Linked DNA regions of Homo sapiens: region 1 is linked to region 2. The links are contacts of gene promoters, found by promoter capture Hi-C in blood cells and fetal thymus (Javierre and others, 2016). All regions are on one chromosome and are shown on one strand. The core of a region is centred on a gene start or on the middle of the fragment in contact, and the rest is flanking DNA. Distances in the headings are between cores, read along the strand shown.

Region 1 (6,326 bases), core at 2,288-4,787, 410 kb before region 2:
AAGGCGCTGCCGCCTGACCTGAACGGGCACTTGTGTTCCAGCTCCCCTGGGACCTGTGGCCGCCGCCCACAGACCATGCTCCTGGGGCGCCTGACTTCCCAGCTGTTGAGGGCCGTTCCTTGGGCAGGTAGGAAGCCGCGCGGGGGCGGATGGGAGGATGCACACCTGGTTAGGAGTGCGGGTCTCAGCAGCTCCGCTGGGGCAGGGCCGGTGGCCACACACACACTCTTTCCCCTCTAAGCTTCCGATGCTCACAGAGGGAACCTCAGGGGTTCAGGCCAGGAATGAGGTGCGGGGGATCCTCGCTGGGACGAACCTGCTGCTCCTCAACCCGACGGGCCTGTGTGGTCTCGCGAGCGGTGACCGTGGCGTCTGGTTTTCTGCAGGCGGCCGCCCGCCTTGGCCCGTCTCTGGAGTGCTGGGCAGCCGGGTCTGCGGGCCCCTTTACAGCACATCGCCGGCCGGCCCAGGTAGGGCGGCCTCTCTCCCTCGCAAGGGGGCCCAGCTGGAGCTGGAGGAGATGCTGGTCCCCAGGAAGATGTCCGTCAGCCCCCTGGAGAGCTGGCTCACGGCCCGCTGCTTCCTGCCCAGACTGGATACCGGGACCGCAGGGACTGTGGCTCCACCGCAATCCTACCAGTGTCCGCCCAGCCAGATAGGGGAAGGGGCCGAGCAGGGGGATGAAGGCGTCGCGGATGCGCCTCAAATTCAGTGCAAAAACGTGCTGAAGATCCGCCGGCGGAAGATGAACCACCACAAGTACCGGAAGCTGGTGAAGAAGACGCGGTTCCTGCGGAGGAAGGTCCAGGAGGGACGCCTGAGACGCAAGCAGGTGAGTGGCCCCCTGCTTGGCCCTGGGAGGGCAAAGTGCTGAGAACACGTTTCTTTGCCACGAATTACTTGGCGGTCCCTCTCTCTGCGTCTTGCAGATCAAGTTCGAGAAAGACCTGAGGCGCATCTGGCTGAAGGCGGGGCTAAAGGAAGCCCCCGAAGGCTGGCAGACCCCCAAGATCTACCTGCGGGGCAAATGAGTCTGGCGCCGCCCTTCCCGCCCGTTGCTGCTGTGATCCGTAGTAATAAATTCTCAGAGGACTCAGCCTTTCCTGCGGGTCTGGAGCTCCATTTGCCGGGTGTGAGGTCTCTCAGGATTGAGGCTGCTGCCAGTCCCAGGTGTTGCAGAAGACCCGGGCAGCAGGGTGGCAGATTGGCCGTCCCTCTCTCTAGCTGGCTCTTGGCCGCCGTCCAGAGGGTGCTGGGCCTGTAGGAGCCCCAGCCTCGCTGTGAGCAAATGTGTGCTGTGTGCAGTTCAGGCTAGGTGCTGTGGGATCACTGTGAACAGATCCCACAGCCCCTCCCTGAGCACCACATTCCCTGGGGAGGCCGACCCGGATGGCAGAAGTACAGGGGGACAGGACTGGGGTTTAGGGAGCACCCGGAATGCACGGGGTGATTCAGGTGTATTTCATGAGTGGAGGGTCGGGGAGGGCCTCATTGGGAAGGCAGGAAAGGTTCTGGTACCACTGGCAGTGGTGGATGGTGCCCGCCAGGCTCCGTGGACGTGATCCTCCAGTGGCCCTCCAAGCTTTCCGGCTACAGGGCCAGGGTGTTGGCCTTCCCAGGCATGTCTGCCATCTCCTGGGGCCCTGAGTGGACGTGGGGACTAAGCAGGAAGAGTTGTCCCAGAAGGGGTTCGGGGCTGGGGGGTGGCTGAGGAAAGGGTCTCGTTTACAGGGCCGAAGAATCCCTGAGGCTTAGGTTGAGCCAGAGGCCCCTGGTGTCTCCACGTTCCTCTGGGTGAAGAGGAGGAACGCATTATTCCCCCCCCCTTTTTTTTTGAGGAAGAGTCTCATTCCATCACCCAGGCTGGAGTGCAGTGGTGCGATCTCAGCTCACTGCAGCCTCTCCCTCCCAGGTTCCAGTGACTCTCCTGCCTCAGCCTCCTGAATAGCTGGGATTACAGGTGCCCGCCACCAAGCCCGGCTAATTTTTGTATTTTTGTTAGAGACAGGGTTTCACCATGTTGGCCAGGATGGTCTCGATTTCCTGACCTCAAGTGATCTGCCCGCCTCAGCCTCCCAAAGTGCTGGGATTACAGGCGTGAGCCCCTGCGCCTGGCTGGAACATGGTATTCCTAAGAGCAGGGATGTGCAGGGGCCCTTGGACTTGGGTAGCAGGGCATGGGTGGGCACTGGGAAGCTGCTGCCCCCAACAGCTCAGCGACAGGAGAGGGGCCTTTGCGTCCGCCCCAGGCGGTTGAGTGGAGGCTCTGGAGCCGCAGCCTCTCCCCCACCGTGTGTGAAGGCTGAAGGCTGGGCTGCCTCTCACCAGAGACGTGGGGGCCTCTTGTCTTTTGTCACAGAAATGTGTCTGAGACTCAAGCTTGAGTTCCTTGCCCATCAGACCTTGGGGAGGACTTGAGCGCTATTCCCAGCAGTTTCTCTAGAACAGGACGAACTTGTGGGTCACACATTGTCCTGGGAGTTGGGCCCTGGACGTGCCAGCCAGCGAGGTCAGTAGGCCTTGGCTGTGGGTCCCTGAGTGCACGGAGGGGTCTGGAGGCTGTAGCGGGTGGAAGTGCGCTTCCCCAGACCACCACAGGGGGGCAGCAGCCGGGCTCCTGGGTCCAGGGCTGGGGACCAGGACAGGTGGCAGGAAGCGTCTTGTGGGGCCCCAGCTGGGGTCACAGGCATCATTCCTGGGTCTGTTTTCCCAGCTGTGAGTGGGGCAGGGCTCCCAGGGCCGAAACTCTCCCAGGTGAAGTGGAGCCCGCTCAGTGCCAAGCCTGGCCCTGCCCCAGCCTCCCGGTGCTCTTGGCCACCACTGGCACCCTCTGTAGTGCTGCTGCCCCCCCGCGTTTCCTTCCATCCCGGGCTCACCTCCCCCTTCCCTGTATGAGGGAGGAGATGTGGGAAGCTGAGTGGACCTGTCCAGAGTCCTAGCCTGCAGAGCTCAGCTGGGCAGCCCGTGGTGGGGAGCAGCCCTACCCAGCTCAGGCACAGCCCTGGGACCCCCCTTGGCCCCGGCCTCCTCCACCCCTGCGTGGGGGCCGGCTTGGGGTGCTCCTGGGAGGCAGGTCAACCATGGCTTTGAGCCGCATCTGGAGACATCTGTGGTTGTCAGTGGGAGGTGCTACTGGCATGGGTGGGTGGAGGCCAGGGATGCTGCCACACACCCTGCACCATGAGGACATCCCCACGACGAACCCATCAGCTCACGTCAGCAGCGGTGGGTACCCCTGCTCCAGACGTCACCATCCCGGCGAGGCGGTGCCTCAGCTGTCCACTCCAGCTCCCGCAACCCAGGCCCCTCCTGCAGACCCACATCCTGCCCAGCCTGCAGAGCTCACCCTGCCTTGGCTTGGAAGCCTTTGTTGCCCAACCACAACCTTGGGAAGCAATTTTGGGGTTTTATTTTTATCTCTGCGGTTGCTCCCAGGCCACAAGAGGCCGTCCCTCCCCTCTTCTCTGTGGGGCCTCCACCCTGCCCCTGCCTGTGAGACATGCACCCCCCTCTCTCTGTTGCCTCTCCCCTGTTCTGGCCCTGGGCATCACCTGGGTGAGGGGCCAGAGGTGGGGTGGGCTGGGCTGGGGGCCTGTGGAGCTGCCAGCGACCTGCCCCTCACCACAGCGTGTCCTGGTGGTGTTCAGAGCTCCAGTTCCAACCAGGACTTGGCTCTGCTGGGGATGGTCCTGGTCAGTGGGGATGGTGCCCCAACCTCACGCCCAGTGGTGGCATTCATCAGTGGCCTCCATAATGGGGCACGTTGGTGAACTCAGCCCCACGCCTCTTCCTCTGGCTGCTGCGTCCCTGGCAAGCTGGTGTCTTCTGCGCCTTCCGCGGGGGCCGAGCCTGGGGCCTGGGGCCTGACCAGCCGCAGAGCTATGGCTTCAGAGCTTTCATGGACCATGGGCAAGGCCCTCAGCTCCCACCCCCGGTGCCCACCCAGGGCCCTGCCTGCTTCAGATGTGTGTGTGTTGGGGGGCAGGGAGGCAGCACACGTGTGTGCCAAGCCCAGAACCTCCAGGGAGCCGAGCTGAGCACTCACTGAACACGCCGTCTGAGAAGCACGCAGGTTGGCGGTGGCAACAGAGACCCTCGGCGTGGAGTGGAGTCTGGGAGGAAAGCTGGCTTCCCTGGGCTGGACCCCCCGAGCCTCCCGGGAAGGGCACTGGGAGGGGGGAAAGAACATTCCTATTTCAGGCTGGAGGAGTCTGGGTCCTGTTTCTGAATGCCATGTTTCTCTCATTCTTAGGTTACTACTTTTTTTTTTTTTTTTTTGAGATGGAGTCTTTCTCTGTCGCCAGGCTGAAGTGCAGTGGTGCAATCTCGGCTCACTGCAGTCTCCACCTCCCAGGCTCAAGCGATTCTCCTGCCTCAGCCTCCTGAGCAGCTTGGACTACAAGTGTGTGCCACTGTGCCCAGCTAATGTTTGTATTTTTAGTAGAGATGGAGTTTCACCATGTTGGTTAGGCTGGTCTCGAACTCCTGACCTCGTGATCTGCCCGCCTCGGTCTCCCACAGTGCTGGGATTACAGGCGTGAGCCGCTGCGCCCGGCCCGATAAGTTCTTTAGAGGAGTTACTTCATTGCACCACTGATTAGAATTAGCCATTTCATACGCGCCGAGCCTAAGTACAGAGTTTAACTTGCCGGGAAGCCATGAGCCAGCCCTGAGTCTGTGTGATTCCTAAGCTTAATTGTAAAAGTAAATTATTTTTATAAAAGTTATGCTTGTGGGCCAGGCGCGGTGGCTGTCGCCTGTAATCCCAGAACTTTGGGAGGCGGAGGCGGGCGGATCACGAGGTCAGGACATCGAGACCATCCTGGCTAACATGGTGAAACCCCGTCTCTACTAAAAATACAAAAAATTAGCCAGGCATGGTCGCAGGCGCCTGTAGTCCCAGCTACTCGGGAGGCTGAGGCAGGAGAATGGCGTGAACCTGGAGGTGGAGCTTGCAGTGAGCTGAGATCATGCCACTGCACTCCAGCCTGGGCGACAGAGCAAGACTTCGTCTCAAAAAAAAAAAAAGTTATGCTTGTACGTGGCTAGTTTAATTGTTTAAGAAGTCACCAGCAGGCGCAGTGGCTCACGCCTGTCATCCCAGCACTTTGGGAGCTGGGAGCATCGCATGAAGCCAGGACTCCAAGAGCAGCCTGGGCAACATAGTGAAACCCTGTCTTTACAAAATAAAAAATCAGCTGGGCATGGTGGTGTGTACCTGTAGTCCCAGCTACTCCAGAGGCCGAGGTGACAGGATGCATGAACCCAGGAGTTCGAGGCTGCGGTGAGCTGCCGTTGTGCTAGTGCCCTCCAGCCTGGGTGACAGAGCGAGACCCTGTCTCCAAAAAGAAAAAAGATTCCTTTAAGAAAAACAGTTGGCTGGGTGCGGTGGCTCACGCCTGTAATCCCAGCACTTTGGGAGGCCGAGGTGGGTGGATCACCTGAGGTCAGGAGATCGAGACCATCCTGGACAACATGGTGAAACCCCATCTCTACTAAAAATACAAAAAACTAGCCAGGTGTGATGGGCGGCTGTAGTCCCAGCTACTCGGGAGGCTGAGGCATGAGAATGGCGTGAACCCGGGAGGTGGTGCTTGCAGTGAGCCGAGATCGCACCACTGCAGTCCAGCCTGAGGGATAGAGTGAGACTCCATCTCAAAAATAAAGGAAAACAGTATCTCTTCCCCCATCCCCACACCACCTTTCCCAGAGGCAATTTTAGTCCTTTTAAATGATTCTTGCGGTAGTACCATGTTTTAAAGTTGGTGACTTTCAGACCTTTTTTTTTTTTTTTTTGAGACAGTATCTCACTCTGTCCCGAGACTGGAGTGCGGTGGCGCGATTTCAGCTCACTGCAACCTCCACCTCCCAGGTTCAAGCAATTCTCCTGCCTCAGCCTCCCTGCTAGCTGGGACTACAGGCATGCACCACCACGCCCGGCTAATTTTTGTGTTTTTATTAGAGACAGGGTTTCACCATGTTGGCCAGGCTGGTCTCAAATGCCTGACCTCAGGTGATCTGCCCGCCTCGGCCTCCCAAAGTGCTGGGATTACAGGCGTGAGCCACCACGCCCAGCCAGACCTATTTTTATTTTTTAAGAGGCAGGGTCTCCCTCTGTCGCCCAGGCTGCAGTGCAGTGGTGCCATTATAGCTCACTGCAGCCTGTAACTCCTGGGCTCAAGCCAGCCTCCCAAGTAGCTGGGGCTACAGGCATACACCACCAGGCCCAGCTAATGTTTTTTTCCAGCAGAGATGGAGTCTCACTAAGTTGCCCAGCCTGGTCTCAAACTCCTGGCCTCAAATGATCCTCCTGCCTTGGCCTCCCA
Region 2 (6,583 bases), core at 97-2,596:
TCTGTGTCGCTCACTCCCGCCGCTCCCGCCCGCAGCCGCTGTTTCTCGGCGCCGCCCGCCCCGCCTCCCGAGAGGCTTCGGGGACTAGACGTTGGACGCGGATTCTTCCAGCGCTGCGCCCCGGGTCCGCCTCCTCCTCCGAGAAGCACCCCCAGACCCCGCCATCCTCCTCCTCCGGGAAGCCCCCCACCAGGCCTCGCCCTCCTCCTCCTCCGAGAAGCCCCCCTAGGCCTCGCCATCTTCCTTCTCCGAGAAGCCCCCCAGGCCCCGCCATCCTCCTCCTCTGGGAAGCCCCCGGCCTAGCCCTCCTCCTCCTCCTCCTCCGGGAAGCCCCCCTAGGTCTCGCCTTCCTTCTTCCCCGGGAAGCCCCCCACAGGCCTCGCCCTCCTGTTTCTCCGAAGAGCCCTCCTAAGCCTCGCCCTCCTCCTCCTCCAAGGAGCCCCCCTAAGCCTCGCCCTCTTCCTCCTCCGAGGAGCCCCCCAGGCCTCGCCCTCCTCCTCCCCCGGAAGCCATCCCCGCTCCCCCGACCCCCTAACTTGCTCTCCTCCGGGGAGCCCCGGGGCCCCGCGGCACCAAGAAGTCGAATGGGACCCCGAGGCCAATCCGCCCGTGTTCGCCTCACGCGCCCCCTCAGCGCCAGGGCTGGGGGAGCCGTGCCTGCGCCCCGCGGCGCCCTTGTCGCGGGGTCTGGCTGTCCAGGCCCGGGGGCCCGGGTGTCAGGCTGGTAGCGGGAAGGAAGGCGCCGGCCTCCCCACCGTCTTCGTCCCGTGCGGCGTCCCCGGGAAGAGCCGCGGTCGGCACCCAGAGGGCCATGGACGGGGAGCGCCCTGCGTGGTGTTCGTGGCGCTGGCCCGGTCTCCGCGGATCGGAGGCGAAGCCAGCCTGGCCCTCGGGTCGCCCGTCTTTTGTCGAGCTGGCGACATCAGTGCGGTTCCCACTGCCCCTCGCGTTTTCCACTGGACTCCCTGCTTTTTATTGTTGATTTGTGGGAGCTCTTTGCATAGGAGCCCCGCCGTTGCAGTCTGGCGTCCTCGCAGGCGCGTGCCTTCGGAGCGCCGGGTGGGCTGCGGGCGCGGCGGGACTCCCGGTCTTCCCCGGGGCGGACACCGGCGTCACCGCGTCCTACGGAGCCGGGCGCCGAGCGGGAGGCGCATCTGGGCCCCACCGGGGCTGCCCGCACCGAGCACGCGAACGCGCCCTCCCGCCCTGAGGCCGCCGGCGTTGCGGTCGGAGAACCATAGAGCCACTCGGCTGGGCGTGGCGCGGCGGGGCGGGGAAAGGGGCGGGGCCTGGGCGGCGGAAGTGCGCAGCCGCGCGGCATTCTGGGGCCGGAAGTGGGGTGCACGCTTCGGGTTGGTGTCATGGCAGCTGCGGGGAGCCGCAAGAGGTAAGCCGCGGGTCCGAGGGCCGATTTGGCCTCCCGGTGGGTGTCTGTATCCAAGGGGGCTTTTCTTGCTCCTCTCAGCGGGGCTGGGGCGAGCTGGGCGTGCGGGCAGCTGTGACTCCTGCGTGACCCGCAGGCGCCTGGCGGAGCTGACGGTGGACGAGTTCCTAGCTTCGGGCTTTGACTCCGAGTCCGAATCCGAGTCCGAAAATTCTCCACAAGCGGAGACACGGGAAGCACGCGAGGCTGCCCGGAGTCCGGATAAGCCGGGCGGGAGCCCCTCGGCCAGGTTAGTGGGGACATGCGTGAGCAGAACCTCTTGCTCGTCCTGTCCCACCCCGGTTGGGTTGCTGACCTCGCCTGGGGTCTCAGGGCCAAGGCCTAAGGATCGCCGACCTCTGCCCCCCAGTCCTTTCAGCTTAACTTACTCTTTCATCCGATGTTTACTGAGCTCCTGTTCCGTGCCAAACTCTGTCCTAGGCAGGGAGCGTATGTTGGTGAGTTGTGCAAAAATCTCTTCCCGATCTAGGAGAACTCTCACGTTCTTGGGTGAAATCACCGCCTGCAGTTCGGTAGAAGAGAGATAAGTGCTGGGGAGGGAAAGGAAGGACAGAGGGGCTGAAGAGAGAGTTGCAGGGGAGCCGAGTTGCTCTGTTAGAAGGAGCGGAGGCTGTGCTCGGTGGCTCACGCCTGTAATGCCAGCACTTTGGGAGGCCGAGGCGGGCAGATTACCTGAGGTCAGGAATTCGAGACCAGCCTGACCAACACGGAAAAATCATGTCTCTACTAAAAATATAAAAATTAGCCGGGCGTGGTGGGCACCTGTAATCCCAACTACTCGGGAGGCTGAGGCAGGAGAATCGCTTGAACTTGGGAGGCGGAGGTTGCAGTGAGCCGAGATGGCACCATTGCATTCCAGCCTGGGTGAGAGAGTGAGACTCCATCTCAAAAAGAAAAAGAAAGAAATCAAAAGATACAAAAATTAGCCTGGCGTGGTGACACACACCTGTCGTCCCAGCTACTCGGGAGGCTGAGGCAGGAGAATCGCTTGAACCCGGGAGGCGGAGGTTGCGGTGAGTGGAGATTGCGCCACTGCACTCCAGCCTGGGCGACAGAGTGAGATTCCGCCTCAGGAGAAAAAAAAAAAAAAAAAAAAGCGGAGGTGGTTGTTTGAGAAGATGACGTCTGAATAAAGACCTCGAACAAGGAGGCCACACAGACAGTAGGGGAAACGTGTCTTAGGATTTCAGGCAGCAGAAAACAGCAAAAGCCTTGCAGTGGGAGCATTTGGGGAGAGTACAGAGGTAAACGTGGCTACGGCAGGAGTGAGGGGGTGAATAGGGGTAGATGAGCCCAGAAGGGTGATGAAGAGCCAGGTGCCGTAGACCGTCATAAGATTGCCTCGTAAAACAGGGAGTTACTTCTGGGTTTGAGCGGTGGAGTGCCTTGTAGGTGACAAGGGTGGAAACAGAGAGACCTTTAGGTTAACTGAGAATTGAACTATGTGGTGGTTTGAGAGGAGGCACGAACGGTTTTGAAGGTGTTGCTGATGAGATCTGATGACAAGTTGCGTGCTGGGTATTAGAGACAGAGATTTGCCTTTAGTCTGAGCCTCTGGAAGGGTGAAGCCACCATCAGGCAAAAGTAGCGCAGGGCACAGGCACAGCAAGTCCAGGGAAGACCGCGGCTGGGGGCCTGTGTAGCGCAGGGCGCAGGCACAGCAAGTCCAGGGAAGACCGCGGCTGGGGGGCCTGTGTAGTGTGTTTGAGGGTATGTTGTAGAGGTTGTTGGGTAGGAGACGTGAGTCTGCCAAAAACGTACCTCCTGGCAATCCTGTCTTGCTAGTTGGTAACCCTTGTGAAGGGAGTAGACTGACCCTGTAGGCCACTCCCCGCCCCCTCTACTTCCACTTCCCACTGGGGTCGCTGACTTCTGCCTCCTCAGCCGGCGTAAAGGCCGTGCCTCTGAGCACAAAGACCAGCTCTCTCGGCTGAAGGACAGAGACCCCGAGTTCTACAAGTTCCTGCAGGAGAATGACCAGAGCCTGCTAAACTTCAGCGACTCGGACAGCTCTGAGGAGGAAGAGGGGCCGTTCCACTCCCTGCCAGATGTGCTGGAGGTGAGGGCGTGGGCCAAACCAGAAGGGGGGCACTTGTCTCTACACTCTCCTTCAGCTCAGCCTTTCTGTGCAGGAAGCCAGTGAGGAGGAGGATGGAGCGGAGGAAGGAGAAGATGGGGACAGAGTCCCCAGAGGGCTGAAGGGGAAGAAGAATTCTGTTCCTGTGACCGTCGCCATGGTTGAGAGATGGAAGCAGGCAGCAAAGGTGAGCAGCAGCCAGGGGCGGGCAGCTGGGTGCCCAGGCAGAAATCTGGCCTTGCCTCACCTGAGGTGAGCAGCAGCGAGGGGCGGGCAGCTGGGTGCCCAGGCAGAGATCTGGCCTTGCCTCACCTGAGGCGCCTGAGGCTGTGCTGGTGGGAGGGGCTGTTCTCCACGCAGGGGACGCTTGGAGCCTTCTTCAGCGCAAGTGACAACACGTTGCTCCTCCTGCTTGCTTGGTTGCCCCAGGACTGTGTGTTCACTTTTGGGTAGATTCCAGGGGCTCTGTTGGCGCCCCACTCCCCAAAGTCAGTCCCGCTGTGGGTGGGACGGACTGTGCCTTTGTTGGTTGGTGGAGCTGGGGTCCTTCTGAGCCTCTCACAGTGTTTTTTTCCAGGGACAAGGATACGGAGAGCTCCAGATACCACCTGGAGGTGGCCATAGTCCAGGATCTGGAACTCCCAGTCCTTTTCCTGGGGCTCCTGAGCCAGACTCCCTCCTCTTCCCAGAGAATTCTAGACTTTGTTTCCATTTTTGTTATCAGTATGGGGCTCTGTGCCTCCCCCCAACCTCTGCCCTATGTCTGAGGGTGAGGGTGAGGGTGCCTTTCTCTGGGGCTGCCGTTTCCACTCTGCCAAGTGCAGTCTCAGCTCCCCTGACGCCCCTGGTACTCTTGCTCCTTCAGCAACGCCTCACTCCAAAGCTGTTCCATGAAGTGGTACAGGCGTTCCGAGCAGCTGTGGCCACCACCCGAGGGGACCAGGAAAGTGCTGAGGCCAACAAATTCCAGGTCACGGACAGTGCTGGTGAGCTTGGGGGGAGCCTGGCATCCAGGCTGTCTGTTGCGTTCTCTGTCCCGTGAGTACATCCAGGCCTTTTCGTTGCAGCATTCAATGCTCTGGTTACCTTCTGCATCAGAGACCTCATTGGCTGTCTCCAGAAGCTGCTGTTTGGAAAGGTGGCAAAGGATAGCAGCAGGTAAGAGGGGAGGGGGTGAAGGGGGGTAGGGTGGAAGGTGGGTCGGGACCACACACAGGAGAAGCCAGAGGCCTTGTGGCTAGGACAGAGACATGGCAACAGAGCCAGCGTCTTCTTGGGGACCCTGAGAAGGCAGCGGGGCACGAGGGACCGTTGGGAGAGGCTGGGCACTTGGGGCCAGTTGGAGCGGCCCCACCTTCTTTCCTTCCTGAAAAGGGAAGTTGTCTGCTCAGAGTCTCAGAAGGTGTGGCGTGTGCAGCTGCCTTTGCTCTCAGATTTTCCCAGGTTAGGGTTCTTGCTCTATTTCCCTTTGTAAGAACTTGTAAGTCCTGTCCATACTCCTTGATCTCTGCACTATGACTGGCCTGTTTCCTGGAGCTGTGTGTGTCTGTAGACAGGGGCCTCATCAATGCTGAGAACCTGAGGGCCTCAACTTCCCCTTTAGAGAAAGATTGGGCAGAGAAGGCCGTGGAAGGTTTTCAGAGAAGAGAGACGCACGGCCAAGCATTTGGTAGAGCATGGAGCACGTTGGGGTTCCGGGGCTGTGCAGCCATGTGACCTTGAGGCAGTGGAGGCCTAGAGTTGGAACTGCCCCAGGACACCTTCAAAGGAAGAAAGGAGACCCACAGGAGAGGTCTCGCCGACAGCGGCTCAGGAGACAGGGGCACTGTTGCTGGTGGTAGTGGTCGGGGCTGGACGGATAGAACAGAGCCATGTCCACATGGAGGCAGTGCTGTCCGAAGGGGACAAGGAAGCTGGCAGATGGGGGTGGAGGGACAGGCAGCGATTGGGAGGCAGCACGCACTGCAGCCTGAGCCACCAGGTCAGGGACCCCTGTCGAGGCAGCAGCTGTACCGGAGGGAGTCAGGCCGTGGGGAGCAGAGCTGCCTCCTGGGTCTGGGTGGGCAGCTGCAGGTGCCCAGCAGCCAGTGTCAGCACAGGTGTGAGGAGGGTCGAGGACGGGGGGCCTTTCTGGGGCCCTGCCCTTTGTCCTTCCCATGCTTCAGCAGATTTTAGTGAGCGCCTACTGCGTGGGCTCTGGTAAATGTTTTGTTTTGTTTTGTTTTGTTTGTTTGGTTTTTGGTTTTTTTTTTTCCTTACGAGATAGGATCTTGCTCTGTCGCCCAGGCTGGAATGCAGTGATCATAGCTCACTGCGACACGTACCTTCTGGATTCAAGTGATTCTCTCACCTTAGCCTCCCAAGTAACTGGGACTCCGCCACCAGGCCTGGATAATATTTTGTATATTTTTGTAGAGACGGGGTCTCACTGTGTTGTTCAGGCTGGTCTCAAACTCCTGGGCTTGGAGTTTGATCCTCCTGCCTTGGCCTCCCAAAGTGCAGTGAGTACTGGCATGAGTCTCCACACCTGCCCTCTGATTTTCTTTTCTTTGTGCAGCAAATGTGGGCCAAAGGAAACCAGTCTGCGGCAGTTGGTGGTGCCTGGGCGACCCCAGAGGTGCTGAGTACCAGCTGCTGGGCTTAGGGACCTCGTGTGGTCTCACGGTGGGGATGTGATCAAGGGGACCTAGAAAAGGTTTATGTCTGAGAGGGAGTTGGAGGCTGGGACTTCCGGGGACTCTTAGGGCGGTGGCCAACCCTGGGCAGGGCAGACAGGAGTTCAAGGCCACTGAAGGAGGAGCTAATGCACTTGAGAGGGTCCTCCTAAGCCCCTGTGTCTGTCCAGCTGTAAGGGGCCCTGAGCTTTTTTGAGTGGAGAGACGGGGGGTCTCTGCAGAGTCGTAGAGGCTATGCTGGCCAGGGCACGCGCCAACATGCTGAGCAGCCTCGCGTCCGAGCCGTGGGGCCTCCCAGCCAGGGGTGGGTGGTCTCTCTGCAGGATGCTGCAGCCGTCCAGCAGCCCGCTCTGGGGGAAGCTTCGTGTGGACATCAAGGCTTACCTG

The links. The method cuts DNA at HindIII sites, captures the fragments that hold promoters and counts their contacts. A CHiCAGO score of 5 or more calls a contact.
Region 1: a fragment that was not itself captured here is called in contact with the fragment with the promoter of NOC2L in region 2 in 1 of 17 cell types (naive CD8 T cells); the score reaches 5.3 in naive CD8 T cells.

The regions. Positions count from the first base shown.
Region 1 is chr1:1,368,506-1,374,831 of GRCh38, reverse strand. AURKAIP1 (aurora kinase A interacting protein 1) reads left to right here. Exons shown (of 4, transcript NM_017900.3): 2 at 42-127; 3 at 387-832; 4 at 930-1,096. The coding sequence starts at 76. The coding sequence ends at 1,031. Among named protein-coding and RNA genes, the nearest start is that of AURKAIP1, 3.5 kb to the left of the region's middle. RefSeq lists silencers at 2,469-2,763, 3,022-3,071 and an enhancer at 2,127-2,894. The HindIII fragment of the contact is 2,312 bases long and covers 2,382-4,693 here.
Region 2 is chr1:954,019-960,601 of GRCh38, reverse strand. It overlaps NOC2L (NOC2 like nucleolar associated transcriptional repressor), which reads left to right and starts at 1,346. Exons shown (of 19, transcript NM_015658.4): 1 at 1,346-1,387; 2 at 1,521-1,673; 3 at 3,329-3,503; 4 at 3,577-3,708; 5 at 4,387-4,507; 6 at 4,589-4,679; 7 at 6,520-6,583. The coding sequence starts at 1,362. It overlaps KLHL17 (kelch like family member 17), which reads right to left and starts at 18. Exons shown (of 12, transcript NM_198317.3): 1 at 1-18. RefSeq lists silencers at 1-124, 1,083-1,342 and enhancers at 1,453-1,562, 1,221-2,078. The HindIII fragment of the contact is 14,217 bases long and covers 1-6,558 here.